Regions from separate parts of the Homo sapiens genome. Here all the other regions are linked to region 1. The links are contacts of gene promoters, found by promoter capture Hi-C in blood cells and fetal thymus (Javierre and others, 2016). All regions are on one chromosome and are shown on one strand. Each heading gives the region's core, a stretch centred on a gene start or on the middle of the fragment in contact. The rest is flanking DNA. Distances are from core to core; before and after follow the strand shown. Region 1 holds the start of ZNF862 (zinc finger protein 862). Region 2 holds the start of ZNF425 (zinc finger protein 425). Region 3 holds the start of ZNF398 (zinc finger protein 398). Region 4 holds the start of ZNF282 (zinc finger protein 282). Region 5 holds the start of ZNF212 (zinc finger protein 212). Region 6 overlaps LOC124901769 (a long non-coding RNA gene). Region 7 overlaps LOC728743 (zinc finger domain-containing protein LOC728743).

Region 1 (2,593 bases), core at 62-2,561:
CATGGTGAAACCCTGTCTCTACTAAAAATACAAAAAAATTAGTTGACCATTGTCTTAATCTCTATGTGCTTCTGTAACAAAATCCCTGGAACTAGGTAATTTATAAATTATGGATACTTATTTCTTATGATTCTGGAGGCTGGGAAATCCAAGATCAAAGCACCAGCAGTGTCTGTGTCTGGTGAGAGCCTGGTCTCTGCTTCCAGGAGGGCACCTTTTTGCTCTGTCCTCACATGGCAGAAGGCAGAGGGGCAGAAGGGCAAAGGGCCTAGCTAGTTCCCCCAGCACGCATGTGGTCACTAACACCTTCATGAAGGCACATCCCTGCCCTGGCCCCCTAAAAGTCTTTTTTTTTTTTGAGACATGGTCTTGCTCTGTCACCCAGGCTGGAGTGCAGAAGCGCCATCCCGGCTTACTGCAGCCTCGACCACCCAGGCTCAAGTGATCCTTCCACCTCACAAAATTATTTTATTTTTATAGAGATGGGATCTCTCACTGTGTTGCACAGGCTGGTCTCAAACTACTGGGCTCAAGTGATCCTCCTGTCTCAGCCTCCCAAAGAGTTGGGATTAGAGGTGTGAGCCACCGCACTTGGACAAAACTTCTTATAAGGACACTAATCCCACCATAAGGGCCTGACCCTCACGACTTCATCTAAACCTCCCAAACGCCCCATCTCCTGGGAGGGGAACACCGGTCAGTCCATTGCACCTCCTTTACCTGGCAGACCCTACCTCTTGCTTTAATTCTGCTGAGGCATCACTTCCGCAGGAAATCCTTGACTAAGCACCTCATATCCCCCACCGCTTCACTCTAAGGTGACAACGCGGGCTTTAATTCATGTTTTGTGCTTACCTCTTTCATAGCCCTTGTCTCTGTTTTGTAATTATCTGTTTCTGGTCTGATTCCCTAATAGATCGTGAGTTCCTTGAAGGCAAGGCCTTTGTCTCATTCAACTGTGTTCTCCCAAACCCTAGAACACGGCCTGACCCATGGTAGGCAACCAATGATACTTTTTGAGTGAATAGAACAAAAAGTATTGCCCTCCTTAATAAAAGAAAACCTAGAACTTCAAGGCTGACATTGGCCTTCGCGTAGCCCAATCAGAGCGCTTTGCCCTTGCTGCAGAGGACTAAAGGACGCCACGCCGCCGTTGCCTAGTAACTGTCGCCGGAGGGAGGCGGGGAGGGTCGCAAGCGCGCCGCCGGCGTCCAATCAGGACCTGCGTTCCGGGAGCCAATAGCAGCTTCGAGAGCCGCTCACCTAGAGCGGACTACACTTCCCGTCACGCCCCGCCGCCTGGGGCTGGGCAGTGACCGTAAAGCTGTTCGCTCGGTGCGACGCAAGTCTCAGCTCAGCGCGCTTATCCTGGGTCCACCGGCGCTACCGCCCCCCGACGTGAGAGAGCGAAGTTCTTGGGCCGCGCTCCCTCCCTACCTGGGTGCCCTCCCCCTCCGGGAGCCTGGGTCCCCGGGGCGGTCGCGGCGGCTGCATCCTCAGGCCAGGCCGCGGGGGGAGGGGGCGGCACGGGCCTCCGAAAGCGGGGCCATGGAGCCCAGAGAGTCGGGGAAGGTAGGACTGGAAGGCCCGGGGGCCGCCCGCTCCCTCCCGAGGATCCCCGAGCCGGGCTCGGGCGAGGCGGGGCGGCTCGGGCGGAGGCCCCGCAGATGAGCCAGGCTTGCAGGGAAGGACTCGCCGGCCCGCCCTCTCTTCCCGCACTTCGGCGCCCGACCCCGGGAGGGTGGCGGAGAGGAGCGGACGCTTCCGTTCGGTGTCCGCGCATCCTCCCCGAGCTGCCGAGCGTCCGCTGGGTCGATGCTGGGTTGGGTGACCCCCGAGTGGAGCGATGCGAAGGTGCTTCCTGTTTTCCCCACCACCTTCGGCGTTTTGAAGAGGCCCTGCTAAGGCTTGGAGTCTGGATCGGACGCCAGTGGGAGCTGCAGGGTGGGACGCTTGAGGGCTTGACCCTGCCTAGATCCTCCTTACCAAGAAAGGGCTGAAAAGAGAGGGCATCTGGCATGCTTTTTGCCACTTCTGTTTCTAGGTTATGTACTTCATGGAATATCTGGGCATTGCTTAGAAACCTGTGTCATAAATTGGCTTTGGGCAAGAGGCTTTGAGTTGGAAGAAAAGGTGGAAAGAAAGTGCTTGGGGGCGGAGTTCAGGGATTTGACGGGATTGCCAGCGCTTCCAGGCCGTGTCATCCAAGACCAGTGTGGTTGTGGGCACATTAGCTTGGAGACAGTGGCAGCCTCTTGGGACTAACATCTTTCTGGATGTTGTTTGCTGCCAGTTCTTGAGTATTGTTTCTTATTTGGCACAGAGGAGAATTCTCTCAACAAACGTTTTCGACTGTTTATTGAGTCCCTTAAAAAACTGTCCATTTAATAAACATTTGTGATCTGTGATTTGCATTGAACGAGATGCTGGAAGTATGAGGATAAATAGGAAATGATCACCTTTCTCAAGGAGCTCTCCTGCAGTTTTCACTTCAATAACTTGGACACGCCTGAAAGGGTTGTCCCACACGAAAAGAGAGAAAAGGATAATGAGGTTCTTTTGATGCTGTAGTTTTTCCTGGGAAGACTAGGAA
Region 2 (2,593 bases), core at 33-2,532, 710 kb before region 1:
AGGAATATTCCAGGAGATTCCCAATCACTTAAAGAGGAGAGAAAAAAAGAAAGCCTGGCTGTAGAAACAAAGCTTGGAGAAATCAGAAAAGAATCTGTACCTGCCAAAGGAGGGTGGGGAAAAGGAGTGGGAAGCAAAAGGGAAGAATCAAATGCAAATAAGGAGCATTACATTCCTAAGATTATAAAATTTCATTGGGGGCACAAGAAAAACTTGCACACTTAAGCAAGTTATACTTAACTGAATGTAACAGGGTTTCTTGGATTAAGCCTCAGGATACGCCTTTCAAACTCTAAAACCGGTGCTCAAATTTTCAATACTACATTACAATACTACAGCATTTACGGTAAATTCGATTTACGCTAACCACCCAATTCATTTTAAGTTTTCTGTCCTTTCCTAGAGGGAGCGGTCTCCAATTTCTCTCAGTTCCAGCTTTCCTTCTCCTTTTTCTCATCTGCTTAACACTGATGTGCTTCTCTGAAACTACCTTCAGCAGGAGAGCACGGGCCCCAGAGAGACCCCGAGGTTCAGAGCCCCGACACTGAAGGCAGGGACAGCGTTGTTGATCTGAGCCTACAACAGGCCGAGAAACAGATCTTTCCCACCCGGATTCTTTCTCCCAAACCAACTTTTATTTATGTATTAAACAGACGGGGTCTGGCTGTTGCCCAGGCTGGAGGGCAGTGGCTATTCACAGGCGCGATCCCACTAACGATCAGCACTGGGGTTTTGCCCTGCTCGGTTTCCGAGCTGGGCCGGTTCCCCCTCCCTGGGGAACCTGGTGGTCCCCGCTCCCGAGAGGTCACCACACAGATGCAGAACTCAGAGGCACCGCGCGACGGACCTAGCGCATATACAGCGCAGAGCTCCCGGGCTCAAGCGCTGCTCCCGCCTCAGCCTTCCGAGTGGCCGGGGCCACAGACGCGCGCGGCCAAGCCCGGCCAGACCAGCTTTTCCCCAGGTCAATTCCAGAACAGCACACGCAGCAAGACTGCACCTTCTCCAGCCCAGCCCGGAGCTCAGTCCGTGGGCCACTGCCAACCCCCAGGCCCAGGCCCCGGCCGCCCCACTCCCTGGACGCGGACCCCAATCCAGCTGCGACAGGGACCCGAGTTTCGACAGAGCCTGCATCCTCCACCGGCCCTTCTTACCGAAGCCGGCTCGGCCATGGCGGTTCCGCACGAACCGGCCCTGCCTGGCACGGCCTCCCCTCCGCTCCGCCCCAACCCAACTCCCAGGTACAGCCCTGCTGGCCCCCAAAGGCAGAGCCGGCCGGGCGCGGTGCATGCTGGGACTCGGCGCTCGGAAGCGGAAGCCGCTCCGCCCCATAGCGCCCCCTGCGGGCGGGAGGAGCGGCGCCGCCAGAGGGAGTCGGTCCTCAGAGGAGGGGCCCGGGCACCCTCCGTGCGGGCCGCAGCACGCCGGTCTTTGAGGGACCCTTGGACTCCCGGATCTGCATGCGAGGGATGCGGTCGAAGACGAGATGAGGGAGCTGACGGGAGGGGAAACGGAGGGGCAGGTGAACATGGAGAGAGCAGGAACAGGGAGAGAGTAGGGACAGCGACTGGGAGACGCGCTCCACAGAAACCCGGACTGAGAGGCAGCGAGAGGGTGAGAGTCCGGTGCTGTTCCTTCCAAAGCTGCCCCCAAGTCAGGGATGAGCTCGAGGGTTTCGTTTGTGAGGGGGTCCCGGGAATCCAGCGAGGCCGGGTAGGTGGTGGGGGGCGCGCGGTGGCCCGGGGTGTCCGTCCCGCCGGGGGCGCGGAGGCCGTGTGGGCCCCGGGCATGTCCCGTCGGGGACGCGGAGGAGGGGTCCGCCCACCACGTCCGGTCCCCGTGGGTGCAGCGCCCTTCTGGGCTCCCCGAGCGTCCACACTCCCTCCTTGGCAGAGAAAGGCCTCGGGCAGAGACCCCATGCGGAAGCCACCCCGGCCTCGGGGCCGCCTGCGGGGACTCAGGGTCGCCCAGGGATGCGGGCCGGGCACCCCTAGCCCCCGGCGGGAGACTGTGACAGAGCGGGAGAAGACGGAGGAGGCCATGACACAGGGCGTGAGAAACACGAAGACGCAAAAACGGGAGAGGTGGGAAGACGCAGAAGGGGAAACCAGGGAGAGACAGAAAGGAGAGAGAGGGCAAGGAAGGGGGTGGCGACTGTCCCCAGAAAATCAACCTCGCATTCTGTCCTAGTCATGTTTTAGGTGTCAGGCTAAAGTAACAAATGAAAAGTGTGTAGTTAGAAAGGATGTCCATGAGAAAGTAGTCCCTGCATAGGCTGAGGAGCGTGTGCACATCTGTATTTGTCCCGGAATCGTGAAATGTAGATGCACCTTACTGATTAAAGGGTTAAAAAAAAAAAACCTTACATTAAAACTAACGTTTCGGATGGGCGCGGTGCCTCACGCCTGTAATCCCAGCACTTTGGGAGGCGGAGGCGGGCGGATCACGAGGTCAGGAGAGCGAGACCATCCTGGCTAACGGCGAAACCCCGTCTCTACTAAAAATACAAAAAAAAAAAAAAAAAAAATAGCCGAGCGTTGTGGCGGGCGCCTGTAGTCCCAGCTCCTAGGGAGGCTGAGTCGGGAGAGTGGCG
Region 3 (2,593 bases), core at 29-2,528, 690 kb before region 1:
CTCAAGAGCAGTTGCCCCAACAGGATAGTTCTCATACTTTTGTGATTTACAGATAGTTATACTGTTATGGGCATTGACTTGATTCATGTGTTGAAATACAGGTTTAGCAGGGTTTGATTCATACATGTTTGAAATGAAGACTTCCTGGAAAACCAGGGTCATGTGCTTATCCTATCACCACACACATGAAACCGCCCCAACAGGGTTCACAAAAATTGCATGCAGGTTCTGGACAGAAATATAGTTATAATTAAGCATTAATCAGGCTGCACTTCGGCCTACTTCCTTGTTGCTAATAGTCACAAGGCACTAGATACTGACATTTGCATCTCTATTGTTCCTATAGATAGGATTTCAGACATCAGACTAAGAATTGATTTGCATCCCTGTTGTTCCTGTAGACAGGATCTCTGACATTAGAATCATAAGGCTTTTGTTTAAGGATCGCTTAAGATGTTTTTCAGACCACGAGTTCCGGTGAAACAGTTGAGTTCAACCAGTTTGAAGACCCCCCACAGAGGAATGGGATGAGCATGAGAATGTAGTTTCTTCATCTCCTTGTACCACGATTTCACCAGCACTCTCCCACCAATCAGTCAACTCCATTACCCTTACAAACTCTAACCCCAAATTCCCAAATTCCTAGCAGAGATGGATGTGAGGCTTCTTCCTGTCTCCTCCTTAGGTGGCCCTATGATTAGACCTCTTTCTCTGCTGCAACCTGGTGTCTCTGCATATAGACTTGCTATGTGCATTGGGCAAGGAACCTACTGCTGTTACACACACTCTGTTGACTTAAAACACAACCTCACCAGAAAACACTTTGTTCTCGCAGGTCCTTTTTTTTTTTTTTTTTTTTTAAGATGGAGTCTAGCTCTGTCGCCCAGGGTGGAGTGCAGTGCTGCCATCTCTGCTCACTGCAACCTCCGCCTCCTGGGTTCCAGCGATTCTCTTGCCTCAGCCTCCGGAGCAGCTGGAATATCAGGTGCACGACACCACGCCCGGCTAATTTTTGTATTTTTTAGTAGAGACGGGGTTTCACCATGTTGGCCAGGCTGGTCTGGAACTCAGGTGATCTGCCCGCCTCGGCCTCCCAAAGTGCTGGAATTACAGGCGTGAGCCACTGCGCTCGGCCTGTTCTCGCAGGTCCTTTTGCTCAGACGCAGCAAACCGTAACCCCAAGCTCGATCTCTGCTGCTCTCAGGAATTCCACTTCCTCCAGCTTGGGCAACATAGCGAGACCCTGTCTCTACAGAAAAATAAATAAGTAAATAAATAAATACAAATAAATAAAACATTAGCCGGGCTTGGTAGCTGCGCCTGTAGTCCAAGATGCTCGGGCAGGCTGAGGGGAAGGATCGTTTGAGCCCAGCAGTTTAAGGCTGCAGTGAGCCTTGTTTGTGCCACTTGCACTCCAGCCTGGACGACAGAGGGAGACTGTCTCTAAATAAATCAATAAATAAGGCCGGGCGCAATGGCTCACGCTTGTAATCCTAGCACTTTGGGAGGCCAAGGCGGGTGGATCATTTGAGGTCAGGAGTTTCAGACCAGCCTGGCCAACATGGTGAAACCCCGTCTCCACTTAAAAAAAAAAAAATTAGCTGGGCATGGTGGTACATGCCTGTAATCCCAGCTACTTGGGAGGCAAAGGCAGGAGAATCGGTTGAACCCGGAAGGCGGTTGCAGTGAGCCGAGATCCCGCCACTGCACTCCAGCCTGGGCGACGGAGTGAGACTCCGTCTCTAAATAAATAAATAAACAAAAATTAAGAATCCTATTTCCAGACCAGGCCCCGGAGAGTCAATAATCCGAGATGTGAAGGAGACCTTAAAATATTATTGATCCCAACACAGGCCGCGTGGGACCTGAACCGCCTCACCTTGGCAACCACATTTGTAATTTCCGCAAATGATCTATATCTTCTTCATTCCAAAATTGTGCCTCTCCGTCACTCATTCCACCCATAGGCTCCCTTCAGCCGTGTCCCCCTTACTCTCACCCTGCACATTTCCGCTGTTCTAAATACGGCTGCCCTTCAGCAGAAGCTGTTGCCTGCAGACGGCGCCTGCGTATCGAGCCTCCGTGAAGAAAATCACTCCCCAGAATGAGCCCGGCTTTGCGGCTGGGTCCTAAACTGCGGTGAGCTGAACCTTCTCGTGGGAATGTGAGAAAGCGGAACACACGTGGGCCCCAAATAACAACCCTCCCCACACCGAAGCCCAAGAGCTGGGGGGGAGGGGCGGAGGCGACGCGGGGGGCGCTGGCCGCAGGGGCCGGCAGGGGGCGCGCTGGCCGCGGTGGCTGGGCAGCGCGAGCCTGCGGCGCGTCTAGGCCCGCGCGGTTCCCGGTGCACTCGCTGCCCACAAAGCGCCAGCTGAGGGGCCGCTGCGGGTGGAGTGCGGCGGAGTCGGCCTCGCGACCCCAGCTTGATCCGCCGCCTGCTGCACCGCGCCTCCGCCGCGTTCCTGCGCGTCCCGAGCCCCGACGGCCGCGTGAGTCCCGTCCGTGCGGGGAAGGCAGGGCCGGGTCGGCGCCGCCTGTGGAGAGGACCCGGCGGCCGGGCCTGCTTGGAGCCGGGCGCGGTGGCAGCGGC
Region 4 (2,593 bases), core at 54-2,553, 640 kb before region 1:
GTTGCCCAGGCTAGAGTGCAGTGGCGCGATCTCGGCTCACTGCAAGCTCCGCCTCCCGGGTTCACGCCATTCTCCTGCCTCAGCCTCCCGAGTAGCTGGGACTACAGGCGCCGCCACCACACCCGGCTAATTTTTTTGTATTTTTAGTAGAGACGGGGTTTCACCGTGTTAGCCAGGATGGTCTCGATCTCCTGACCTCGTGATCCGCCCGTCTTGGCCTCCCAAAGTGCTGGGATTACAGGCGTGAGCCACGGCGCCCGGCCTTATTATTATTTTTTGAGATGGAGTCTCGCTCTGTTGCCCAGGCTGGAGCGCACTGGCGCGATCTTGGCTCACTGCAACCTCCGCTTCGGAGGTTGAAGCGATTCTCCTGCCTCAGCCTCCCGAGTAGCTAGGATTATAGGCCCACGCCACCACGCCCGGCTAATCTTTTTGTATTTTTAGTAGAGACGGGGTTTCACCATGTTGGCCAGGCTGGTCTCGAACTCCTGACCTCAGGTGATCCGCCTGCCTCAGCCTCCCAATGTGCTGGGATTACAGATGTGAGCCACCGCGCTCGGCTAATTTTTATTTTTTATAGGGATGGGGTGTCAATATGTTGCTCAGTCTGGTCTCGAACTCCTGGGCTCAAGTCGTTCTCCTGCTTCAGCCTCTCAGAGTGCTGAGATTACAGGTGTGAGGCACCACGCCCAACCCAATTTCAAGGTGTTTGAAGAGGCCACTGTTAAAATGCACTGCACCTTACCTGGGAGAAAGAGCTCAGCCCTCTTTTGACACCTTAACATGAATCACTTCTCTATCATCCATAACAGTGCAAAAGCTCTGGGATGGGTCCAGGTAAATCTGGATTGGGAAGAAGGGGAGTGGGAGGTAAAGTCTGCAAAGGAGTGAGGGAAGGCAGAAGGCCAGAAGAAAGTGTCTGAAGACAGAATTACTCCTGCAAAATTTTCACAAGGGTCAGGCACTATTTTCTCCCGGGATGCCCAATACATTTGCAGAATTAACAGTAATCAAGCCCACAGTCCAGGTCCTCGCATAGTTTGGGCCTTTAAAGTCGGCCATCCCAGATTGAGGGGGCCTGACCCCTGGGCGAGGCCGCCGCCTCTCAGTTTTGGGGCGGTGGCGACCCCAGTCCGGGAGTGGCCCCGGTAGGTCCCCGCAGGCGGGCAGGAGCTCCGAGGCCATTGGCTGGCGCGCGGGCTGCCAAGGGGCGGGGAGCGCCGCCGAAGGGGACTGTTTGCTCCTACGGGCTGTAGATGGAGCTGTCCGGCCCCGGAGAGGGGGAAGGCGCCTGGAAAACGTTCTTCTTCTCCCTGGCCGACCCGAGCGGGGAACAGCACTCCCAGGATGCAGTTTGTGTCAACACGGCCGCAGCCTCAGCAGCTGGGCATCCAGGGCCTGGGGCTGGACAGCGGGAGCTGGAGCTGGGCCCAGGCTCTGCCCCCGGAGGAGGTCTGCCACCAGGAGCCGGCGCTGCGCGGGGAAATGGCCGAGGGAATGCCGCCCATGCAGGTGGGAGAACCCCGCCGGCGCCATGGCCGCGCTGCCGTGGGGGCGGGGCGCGGGCTGGGCCGCGGGACCGGGCCGCGCCGTCCTCCGGTAGCCTTGCGGCGCCCTCCCAGCTTCCGCGCCCAGGCGAGGCCCGAGGCGGGCGGGGCACGGCCGGGCTGCGCGGCGGGCAGGACGGAGCGGGCCCGACGCAGGCCCGGAAGGGCAGGCCTGGCCCGCGCGGCGCGGAGCAGCGGTCGCCGGGCCCAAGTGCGGAGGCCCCGCGGGGCGGGGGCCGGGACCGTCCTTTCCGGGACCTGGCAGAGCTCTGACCCTGTGGCTGAGCCCCGGCTTGGGGCTCCCTTTGCGCCCGGCCGGCGGAGAGCTTCGCGGGCAGTGCTTCCGCCCGGCCGCAGAAGTGAATGCCTCGTTCGTGTTTACACGGTGGCCAATTTGACGGGGATATTTTTTAAATGTTTGATTACCACCTTTCACCAAGTGTAATGAGTAATTCACTCTCCCCCTGCACCGGGTGTGATCCAGGGAGGGGGCCATGGAGAGATGACTTCGGGGTCTTTCCTGCGGTTGACAAACTTGGCCGCATGTTGGAATGGCCTGGGCAGCTTTTAAGACTCCTGAGCCCTTGCCTGGTCCCAGAGCTCAGGGTCTCTGACGGGTGAGAGTAGCACCAGGCATTTCTTCAGGCTCCATCGATGATCTCCGTGGGCAGAACCGGTGCTCCAGAATTGGGTATAAAACCAGGGGAGGTGGATCCTCAGAGAGGCCTGAAAGCTTGCCCAGGGAAGACTCTCTGGGCCCACCCTGGGGCTGGGCTGCTCAGGGGCCCCTCTGCTCACCACGCGGCTCTCAGCCAGGTGCTAACGAGGGAGCCAGGGGCTGCTGTGTTGTGTTTGATCATTTTCAGGGTTAGGGCTTCAAACCCGAGAAAACTAAACTGGGCCCCGGGACTTTCTTAACTTCTACTGTGGACTCTGTCCCCTTCTGTGGGCTAGGGCGGAGTGGAGCCTCTGTGATGGAGGAATGGGTGCTTTTGATGGAAACACCAGCACCTCTTACTGGTATTACAGGGCCTGGCGATCCTAGG
Region 5 (2,593 bases), core at 62-2,561, 600 kb before region 1:
GATTCACCATTCAATCATTTACAAATATGAACACTTCTGTGTACAACAAATGGAGGATACAGTAGACAGACATTTCAGTGGAAGAGATACAGATAATTAATATGTAAATGAGTGAAAAAGAGAGATTACTTCAGATGGTGATAAATGGTATGAAAAATTTCCAGCAGGGTAACGAGATTGAGTATTGAGATGGAGGATGGTGTGGGGCTGTAGAAAGGGGGGACTGGGGATATCTCTCTGAGGATGTAGAATCTGAACTGAGCCCTGCATGTGAGGAAGGAGCCAGTCATGATCTTAAAAGTTTCGTTCTCCGCCGGGTGGGGTGGCTCACACCTGTAATCCCGGCGCTTTGGGAGGCTGAGGTGGGCGGATCACCTGAGGTCGGGAGTTTGAGACCAGCCTGACCAACATGGGGAAACCCCGTCTCTACTAAAAATACAAAATTAGCCAGGCGTGGTGGCACATGCCTGTAATCCCAGCTACTAGGGAGGCTGAGGCAGAAGAATCGCTTGAGCCCGGGAGGTGGAGGTTGCAGTGAGCCGAGATTGCGCCATTGCACTCCAGCCTGGGCAACAAGAGCGAAACTCCATCTCAAAAAAAAAAAGTTTCGTTCTCAGAGGAAACACTTCACGCCTATCCTGTGAAGTGGAAGTTCATTGCTTGTCTCCAGAGAGACAATGGTATAAATTAGGCAGCTATGGTTGCCGTAGTGTTGCTGGTATTGGGGATTAAGTACATGGCGATTAAATGGTCATGTGGCCGTGCTTTCCAACAAAAATTCCAGACACATCGTCTTACATGTAGCATGAGGACTGGAAATATTTGAAATCAGGGTTGTCTTGGACTTTCCAAGGCACATGATTACCATAATTAACAGGCTACAGAGGGCTGGCCTGGGCCTGACCCCACGCTCCACACTGTTGATATGGAAACTGTTCCCAGTTTCTAAAAAGCCAAATAACAGGTGAACTTTTGGAATAAAATCACTTGCCTTTTGGAACCATATTTCTTTTCCCCAACAACATTACATGTTCTTTCCTCAGCAAAAAGTCTGAGTTGTACACATTTTTGAATCCCTCAAAGCATTTAGCAGAGTGCTGGGCATACGGAAGACAGCAGGATCCCGTGGCTTTGCCTGAAACGCGGAACCTGGTCTTGACTTTTGAGTGACTGAGCCCTCCTGGTGCCCGCACTCTGGCCGGGAGTGCCAAGCAGCGTTCTCCCTCCCGCCGCACGGGGGCACAATGGGAAGCCTGCACAGTGAGGAAGAGCGGCTGGAGCCGGTCTTGTGCCGGGGAGGTCGCTGCTCCCAGAATGCACCTGGCATCAACACGGCGGCGGCGGCGGCGGCTTCCAACAGGCTCTGGGGCGCCGAGCGGACAGGAACGCAGCACGGGGGCTCCGAGGCGGGGTCTGGGTGTTGAGGGGCGACTGGAGCCATGGCGGAGTCGGCGCCTGCTCGGGTAAAGAGGCACCGGCGCGCTGGCTCGAGGGCGCGTTGGGGATGGCGGAGTCCCCTGCCGGGGGCGGGGCTTCGCGGTTTGGACGCCGCCGGGGTCTTGGTTTCCCGGGGCTGCCGTTGGCGCGGGTGAACGCGGACCCTCCTCTTCGCGACCCCAGTGCTCTGCCCTTTTTTCCCTCCGCTTCCTTCTGCAGCGGGGTCGGAGCCTCGGCGCCGTGCGCCCTTGCCCAGAAACTTCTCTGACGCTTGCTTTAGGTTGGTGGATTTGTGACCCTGCCCACACATTTTCTCTTTCGTGCCAAAAGAGCCCGTTCCCAGGTTGGAGTGTTTCCAGATTGGAAACGGTCTCCGTCGCTACGAGTGAGCTCTCCCGCTGCCCGGGAGACCCCAGGACTTGCCTCTCTGCGACCACCTCCTCTTCGGTCCGATGTGTTGTCGGTTTTTCCAGTGCTGCAGATTTCTGTCTGGGGGTTGCAGCCACAGGTTGAAGTCAGCCTGGGCTGCTTCTCCTTGGGGACGGATGTTATCTACAGTGCAGTTGCTGCATTTTGTTTGTAGAGCTGCCCAAACTCTCTCCTTCACCCCCCCCCCAACACCCCCCTCCCAGCCCACCGACCATCCCCATTCTGGGAATGTCAAGATACGGAGTTTGGTGTGAGGAAAATCCTATTTGTGGAGTCACGAAGCTTTCAGCTGTCCATTTGGGTGATTTTAGGCAACTGTGTTCGCTTCTCTGGGTCTCTTTCGTTTTCTTAACTGTAAATCGAGAGTGTTGGAGTAGTTGCTAGATGATCTCCAAGGCTTTAAGTTTCCTTCCAGCTCCGACATTCTCATACTGTTCCCATACTGTTTCAAAGTAGTGGTTAATTTAACAACACCAGAGGGTTTGCAACGGAAGGGGCAGCTGGAATTGAATTGACTTTTAATGAAGTGTTCCTTGGTCTAGAAACACTTCGAGAATCATGTTAGATCTTTGTGAGAATGGAGGGCTAAGGAAATTCTGTGGGGAAAATTTGACCATGAGCAGGGTGCGCTATATTTGATTCTTGTAGAAAGTGCGTTAAGAACTAAGAACGGAGAGATTGGGAGACTTAGAGAACACAGTATTTGCTTTCAAGGAAGTTAACAGTT
Region 6 (2,593 bases), core at 46-2,545, 580 kb before region 1:
ACAATTATTTTAGATGTGAGACATTAGGGAAGACTTCGTGATAGGTGGTATTTGAACTGGCCTTTTAAGGATGGGAGGAAGGACATTCTAAATGGAGGTGACATGACCAAGTCAGGAGACATTATGGGACATGTACAGAAGAGGAGTTCATCCAATTTCGGGAGGGTGGAGTGTGAGAAGGAGAGTAGTGGGTGTTAAGAGTTGGGTCAGGCTTCAAGGAGTCTGGATTTTATTCGGTTGATAATGGGGAGCTGAAGAATTTTGAGCAAAAGAGTGACCTGATTCTAGCTGTGATTTGGGAATACTAATAAGAATTATACTGTGCTTTTTGGGGGGTGTGAGGTTTGGGATATGTTAGAAGGTTTCAAGTGAGATCAAGGAAGAGCCAGTGAGGACCTACCTGATTGGGTGCAGCTGCAGTGGGAAGGGAACAATAGATAAGACCAAGAAACAGTCACAGGATGTGATGCTGTGGGAATGGAGGGACCATTTTTTTTTTTTTTTTTTTTTTTTTGAGACGGAGCCTTGCTCTGTCGCCCAGGCTGGAGTGCAGTGGCGCCATCTCAGCTCACTGCAAGCTCCGCCTCCTGGGTTCAGGCCATTCTCCTGCCTCAGCCTCCCAAGTAGCTGGGACTACAGGCGCCTACCACCACGCCCGGCTAATTTTTTGTATTTTTAGTAGAGACGGGGTTTCATCGTGTTAGCCAGGATGGTCTTGATCTCCTGAGCTCGTGATCCGCCCGCCTCGGCCTCCCAAAGTGCTGGGATTACAGGCGTGAGCCACCGCGCCTGGCCTCAGGAGGGACCATGTCTTACTCCTATCAGCCTCCACAGCTCTCAGCACAGGTGCTTGGCACATAGGTGCTCAGCAAATGTTTGCTGAATGAGAAAGTATAATGGGTGTTCACAGAATAGAGAGCTGGGTGTTGTCTGAAATAGAGAAGGCTTCTATGGAGGAAGTGGGATTTGGCTGTACTTCTGGTCTCCCTCTACTAATGCTTCCGTTCCTAACATCTTTATAATTCTGTGTGGGTCCACCTCCTAATCTAAATTACATTCCTGGCTTGGAGGATGAGGGAGCCACAGGAATTCTGTCTCTGACCTGCCACTATCTCTTGGCTGAGGATGTTCTGGTGGGGACAATGGCACTTGAGTGTGCTGACCTCTTGTTGAGTGACCCTGGGTACTACTTTGGTGGCCCTCAAATTGTGACAACCCTACCTTCTGCAGGTGGAGTCACCCTTGTTACTCCACGGACTGGGCCTCCACTGGATGTTGTCAGTTCACCCAGAGATAATCAGGTCCTGGAAATCTGATCCCCCAAAAAACAAACTCACAAGAGACAGATTAACAATTAAAGATGAATGTAGGCTGAGCGTGGTGGCTGATGCCTGTAATCCCGGCACTTTTGGAGGCCGAGGTGGGTGGATCTCCTGAGGTCAGGAGTTTGAGACCAGCCTGGCCAACATGGTGAAACCCCGTCTCTACTAAAAATACTAAAAATTAGCCTGGCATGGTGGCAGGAACCTGTAATCCCAGCTACTCGGGAGGCTGAGGCAGGAGAATCTCTTGAACCTGGGAGGTGGAGGTTGCAGTGAGCCGAGATCGTGCCATTGCACTTCATCTTGGGCAACAAGAGCGAAACTCCGTCTTAAAAAAAAAAAGCCACCATGTAATTTTAATTTATATCAGAGCTGGCTTGACACCCCGGCTGGTCTGCTCAGAAACCACATTATGGTGCAAAGTGTTCGTTTATTAAATATATTTATAAAATCTGAGCATGGGAATGGGAGGTAGCTGTGGGACCCTGATAAACAGTGCCAAGGTTTTCGAACTGTGATCACCAGACCAATAGAATCAGCATTTCTTGGGAACTAGTTAGAATTGCAAATTCGCATCACTTTCATCCCCTCCTGTTTCAGACCTAGAAATGTTGAGGTTTGTGCCTAGCATCCTGTATTTTTAACAAGAACCCTCAGTGAACATGATGCACACTGAAGTTTGAGTACCACTGACTTAGAGAAACTTTTTTTCTAAAAAACGAAGACTAGCTGTCAAACATTATAGCACTCTTTCCTCAACAGAGCTCATTAAATCCTAGCATTTTTGTCTCCAGCCCATTTTCCTGACCCTTTCTTTCTTTCTTTTTCTTTTTTTTTTTTTTTGAGATGGGGTTTTGCTCTTGTTGCCCAGGCTGGAGTGCAATGGCATGATCTCGGCTTACTGCAACCTCTGCTTCCCGGGTTCAAGCGATTATCCTGCCTCAGCCTCCAGAGTACCTCACCACCACACCCAGCTAATTTTTTGTATTAGTAGAGATGGGGTTTCATCATGTTGGCCAGGCTGGTCTCGAACTCCTGACCTCAGGTGATCCATCCGCCTCAGCCTCCCAAACTGCTGGGATTACAGGCATGAGCCACGGCTCCTGGCCCATTTTCCTGACCCTTTCTGTTTGCATTGGACCTTAACTGTTATTCTATAACGTCACCATTTACTGGTATTTTATAATCCTGAATAGATTGGACTGATCCCTGATAAGATCCTAGGGATGCTCTTAATGTCTTTAGTGCATACTTGCAGTTTGTGTTTTAGA
Region 7 (2,593 bases), core at 45-2,544, 570 kb after region 1:
TGTGTTTTTTTTCCTGTTTTAAGCTTCACAAAAATATCTTTAAATCACTGATAATGCCACCCTTTTCTCCAAGTTTGGGGTGCACTTCCCTACCTCCCCCTGTCCTTGAGATCTGGTTGGAGGGATAAGACATATCTAGACGAAGGTAACTGAAAATCCTAGCTGAAACTGAAACTGAAAATCCTAACTGAAACTCATCACCATCTGTCTAGTGTCTTGTGTGGCTGGCTGGCATGGTGCTAGGTGCTGGGGTTGAAAGAAGGCAGCTCTGTCCTTAGGGTGCTGGGAGTCGGGGGACAGAGGTGGCATGACTGACCCTCGTGCAGTATGATCAGTGAGAGCCACATGGTTGTGTCACACGGTGTTTAAGCCCGGGGTGGAAAGGTCAGGGAAGGCTTCTAGGAGAAGGTGCCCTTGGGAAGGGACTGGAAGGAGTGTAGGCCGTGCTTAAAAGGCAGTGGAGGAAGAGGAACACCAATTCCCAGCAGGGGAACTTGAGCTTGAACAAAACGGGGCGAAAGGTGGAGGTTGTGGGAGGTGAGTGTCCCTGCCAGGCTGGGGGTTGGCTAACCCTCGTGTTCCCCGACCCCTCTCTCTCCACCCCCCACCCCCGCCCCCGCTTCTGTCTCCCTAGGGACTGGTGATTGCAGCTGGAAGTGCCCATGACCGAGCTGGCGTCCTCCGGGGGCGGGTCCCCTGCGGGGGACGGGGAGGAGGGTCTGGGGGACGAGCGAGGCCTGGTCATCCACCACCCTGCAGAGGAGCAGCCCTACCGCTGCCCGCTGTGCGGCCAGACCTTCTCGCAGCAGCCCAGCCTGGTGCGGCACCAGAAGGCGCACGCCGGAGCGGGCCGCGCGGCTGCCTTCGTGTGTCCCGAGTGCGGCAAGGCCTTCAGCGTCAAGCACAACCTCGAGGTGCACCAGCGCACGCACACCGGGGAGCGGCCCTTCCCCTGCCCCGAGTGCGGCCGCTGCTTCAGCCTCAAGCAGAACCTGCTCACGCACCAGCGCATCCACAGCGGCGAGAAGCCGCACCAGTGCGCGCAGTGCGGCCGCTGCTTCCGCGAGCCGCGCTTCCTGCTCAACCACCAGCGCACCCACGCGCGCATGCCCGCGCCGCACCCGCGCCGCCCCGGCGTCTTCGGGGAGCGGCGGCCCTACTTCTGCCCCCGCTGCGGCAAGAGCTTCGCGCGCGAGGGCTCGCTCAAGACCCATCAGCGCAGCCACGGCCACGGGCCCGAGGGCCAGGCGGCCCACTTAGGACGCGTGCTATGATGCGCCCGGGGCCTGCTGCCGACGGCTGCTTCCCGCCCCGCACGTGCGTCCCCGACCCCTGGAGATGGCCCTGGGCCGCAGCTCCCTCTCTAGATGGGATCCCGGGAGAGGGGCAGCGCTGGCTTGGGCTCTTGAAGGTGTGGGCCGCCGCCAGGCTCCGGCCGCCCGCTCGCGTTCCTCCCTCGGGACCCTCTGGCTGGCTGCGCACAGCTGCTTCCGGCTCCTGCCATGGTTCTCCTTCTCTGGCCCATCCGGCCTAGAGCAGGTGAGACCTGCGGGGCTGGCCAGAGCCCCTCTCAGGGCTGGGAGTGGTGGGGGTGGAGTGCGTGGTGTTGATTCTTGATGGCAGGTGGGGCGGTCTGGGTACCGGGCTGTAGGTTTCTCTGTGATGAGCTGCTTACCGGATCTTCATCCCCAGAATGTCAGAGTTGAAAGAGACTTGGAGAGGCCACTTTCCACAAACCCCACGCCCAACCTCAGCCCCTAGGCCTCCTGGCTCCTGTACACACTCTCTGCTGTCCTTGAGATGTCATTTCACTTCATGTTTCAGTTTACTCATCTGTAAGTTGGGGATATAGATGAGGGACTCTTCCTCGCTGGGATATATTGCAGCTACTGGATGAGAGAGGGTGAGGTCACTGGTGCACAGAGCCTTAGTTGATTCTGCCACACCATGTGCCACTGACTGTGCCGGGCTGGGCTCTCCCAGAGACACACATGAGGACCGCAGGCCCTGACACGGGGTGCTCACACTCGGTGTGTGACGCGGGGCCAACCTACAAAGTGCTCTGGGGTGAGACCGAGGAGGGTGACTGGTTTCTCTTCGTCACCCAGGGGAGTTTGATGGCTTTGAACCAGGTCATGGGGACAAATAAAATTGTTCTAGGAAGAGCAAGTGTGTAGAAGGGTGTTTTCAAGGGAGGGGGGGTCCTGATAGTTCAGTGACTGTCTCCAGGTGTCCCAAGGGGAGGTTTGCCCTACAAAGGACTTCGTGGTCAGGGGGTGGGGACACTGAGATTTTTAATGAGATGAGTGCTATGATCTCAGACTTATGCTTTAGGAGGAGAATCAGAGGCACTGTGAGGACAGACTGATGTGGGAAGAGCTGGAGCCTCGAGGGGCTTGGGTCATCTGGGCAAGAGAACATAAGGCCCCCAGCTAAGAGGCCTGGCCAAGGTCTGGCAGTGAGAAAGGGGGCAGCCAGGACTCTGCTCCAGGACCTCTGGTTCCAAGCTGGCGCTCTGAGGCACGGGCCTCTTCAGCCTTTTGGCAGATGAGGAAACAGGTTTGCCAAGCTTGCCTACACCACAGTTGGTACT

The links. The method cuts DNA at HindIII sites, captures the fragments that hold promoters and counts their contacts. A CHiCAGO score of 5 or more calls a contact.
Region 2: the fragment with the promoter of ZNF425 here is called in contact with the fragment with the promoter of ZNF862 in region 1 in 1 of 17 cell types (neutrophils); the score reaches 5.4 in neutrophils.
Region 3: a contact is called between a fragment that was not itself captured here and the fragment with the promoter of ZNF862 in region 1, in 1 of 17 cell types (neutrophils). The highest score is 6.1, in neutrophils.
Region 4: the fragment with the promoter of ZNF282 here is called in contact with the fragment with the promoter of ZNF862 in region 1 in 2 of 17 cell types (neutrophils and total B cells); the score reaches 7.1 in neutrophils.
Region 5: a contact is called between the fragment with the promoter of ZNF212 here and the fragment with the promoter of ZNF862 in region 1, in 3 of 17 cell types (total B cells, naive B cells and erythroblasts). The highest score is 7.1, in total B cells.
Region 6: a fragment that was not itself captured here is called in contact with the fragment with the promoter of ZNF862 in region 1 in 1 of 17 cell types (naive B cells); the score reaches 5.2 in naive B cells.
Region 7: a fragment that was not itself captured here is called in contact with the fragment with the promoter of ZNF862 in region 1 in 1 of 17 cell types (erythroblasts); the score reaches 5.1 in erythroblasts.

The regions. Positions count from the first base shown.
Region 1 is chr7:149,837,064-149,839,656 of GRCh38, forward strand. It overlaps ZNF862 (zinc finger protein 862), which reads left to right and starts at 1,312. Exons shown (of 8, transcript NM_001099220.3): 1 at 1,312-1,572. The coding sequence starts at 1,549. RefSeq lists a silencer at 1,388-1,847. The HindIII fragment of the contact is 19,921 bases long and covers 1-2,593 here.
Region 2 is chr7:149,125,042-149,127,634 of GRCh38, forward strand. It overlaps ZNF425 (zinc finger protein 425), which reads right to left and starts at 1,283. Exons shown (of 4, transcript NM_001001661.3): 1 at 1,155-1,283. The coding sequence starts at 1,172. It also overlaps the pseudogene RN7SL521P and a transcript of ZNF398 not described here. RefSeq lists enhancers at 1-198, 446-997, 998-1,549, 2,213-2,262 and silencers at 708-881, 1,613-2,052. The HindIII fragment of the contact is 7,753 bases long and covers 71-2,593 here.
Region 3 is chr7:149,145,104-149,147,696 of GRCh38, forward strand. It overlaps ZNF398 (zinc finger protein 398), which reads left to right and starts at 2,350. Exons shown (of 6, transcript NM_170686.3): 1 at 2,350-2,593. It overlaps LOC107986856 (a long non-coding RNA gene), which reads right to left and starts at 2,258. Exons shown (of 2, transcript XR_007060581.1): 1 at 1,880-2,258; 2 at 1-1,249. RefSeq lists enhancers at 1-553, 554-1,127, 1,128-1,701, 1,795-1,844, 2,276-2,593 and silencers at 2,155-2,593, 2,459-2,593. The HindIII fragment of the contact is 4,715 bases long and covers 1-2,593 here.
Region 4 is chr7:149,194,243-149,196,835 of GRCh38, forward strand. It overlaps ZNF282 (zinc finger protein 282), which reads left to right and starts at 1,304. Exons shown (of 8, transcript NM_003575.4): 1 at 1,304-1,512. The coding sequence starts at 1,348. RefSeq lists silencers at 972-1,261, 1,080-1,401, 1,522-1,881 and an enhancer at 2,322-2,371. The HindIII fragment of the contact is 5,667 bases long and covers 1-2,278 here.
Region 5 is chr7:149,238,340-149,240,932 of GRCh38, forward strand. ZNF212 (zinc finger protein 212) reads left to right here and starts at 1,312. Exons shown (of 5, transcript NM_012256.4): 1 at 1,312-1,463. The coding sequence starts at 1,440. RefSeq lists an enhancer at 1,079-1,373. The HindIII fragment of the contact is 6,599 bases long and covers 1-2,146 here.
Region 6 is chr7:149,258,425-149,261,017 of GRCh38, forward strand. All of the region lies in intron 1 of LOC124901769 (a long non-coding RNA gene), which reads right to left. Among named protein-coding and RNA genes, the nearest start is that of ZNF783, 2.5 kb to the right of the region's middle. The HindIII fragment of the contact is 3,317 bases long and covers 1-2,593 here.
Region 7 is chr7:150,406,950-150,409,542 of GRCh38, forward strand. LOC728743 (zinc finger domain-containing protein LOC728743) reads left to right here. Exons shown (of 3, transcript NM_001395976.1): 2 at 635-1,539. The coding sequence starts at 663. The coding sequence ends at 1,274. Among named protein-coding and RNA genes, the nearest start is that of ZNF775-AS1, 24 kb to the left of the region's middle. RefSeq lists an enhancer at 1-49. The HindIII fragment of the contact is 2,546 bases long and covers 22-2,567 here.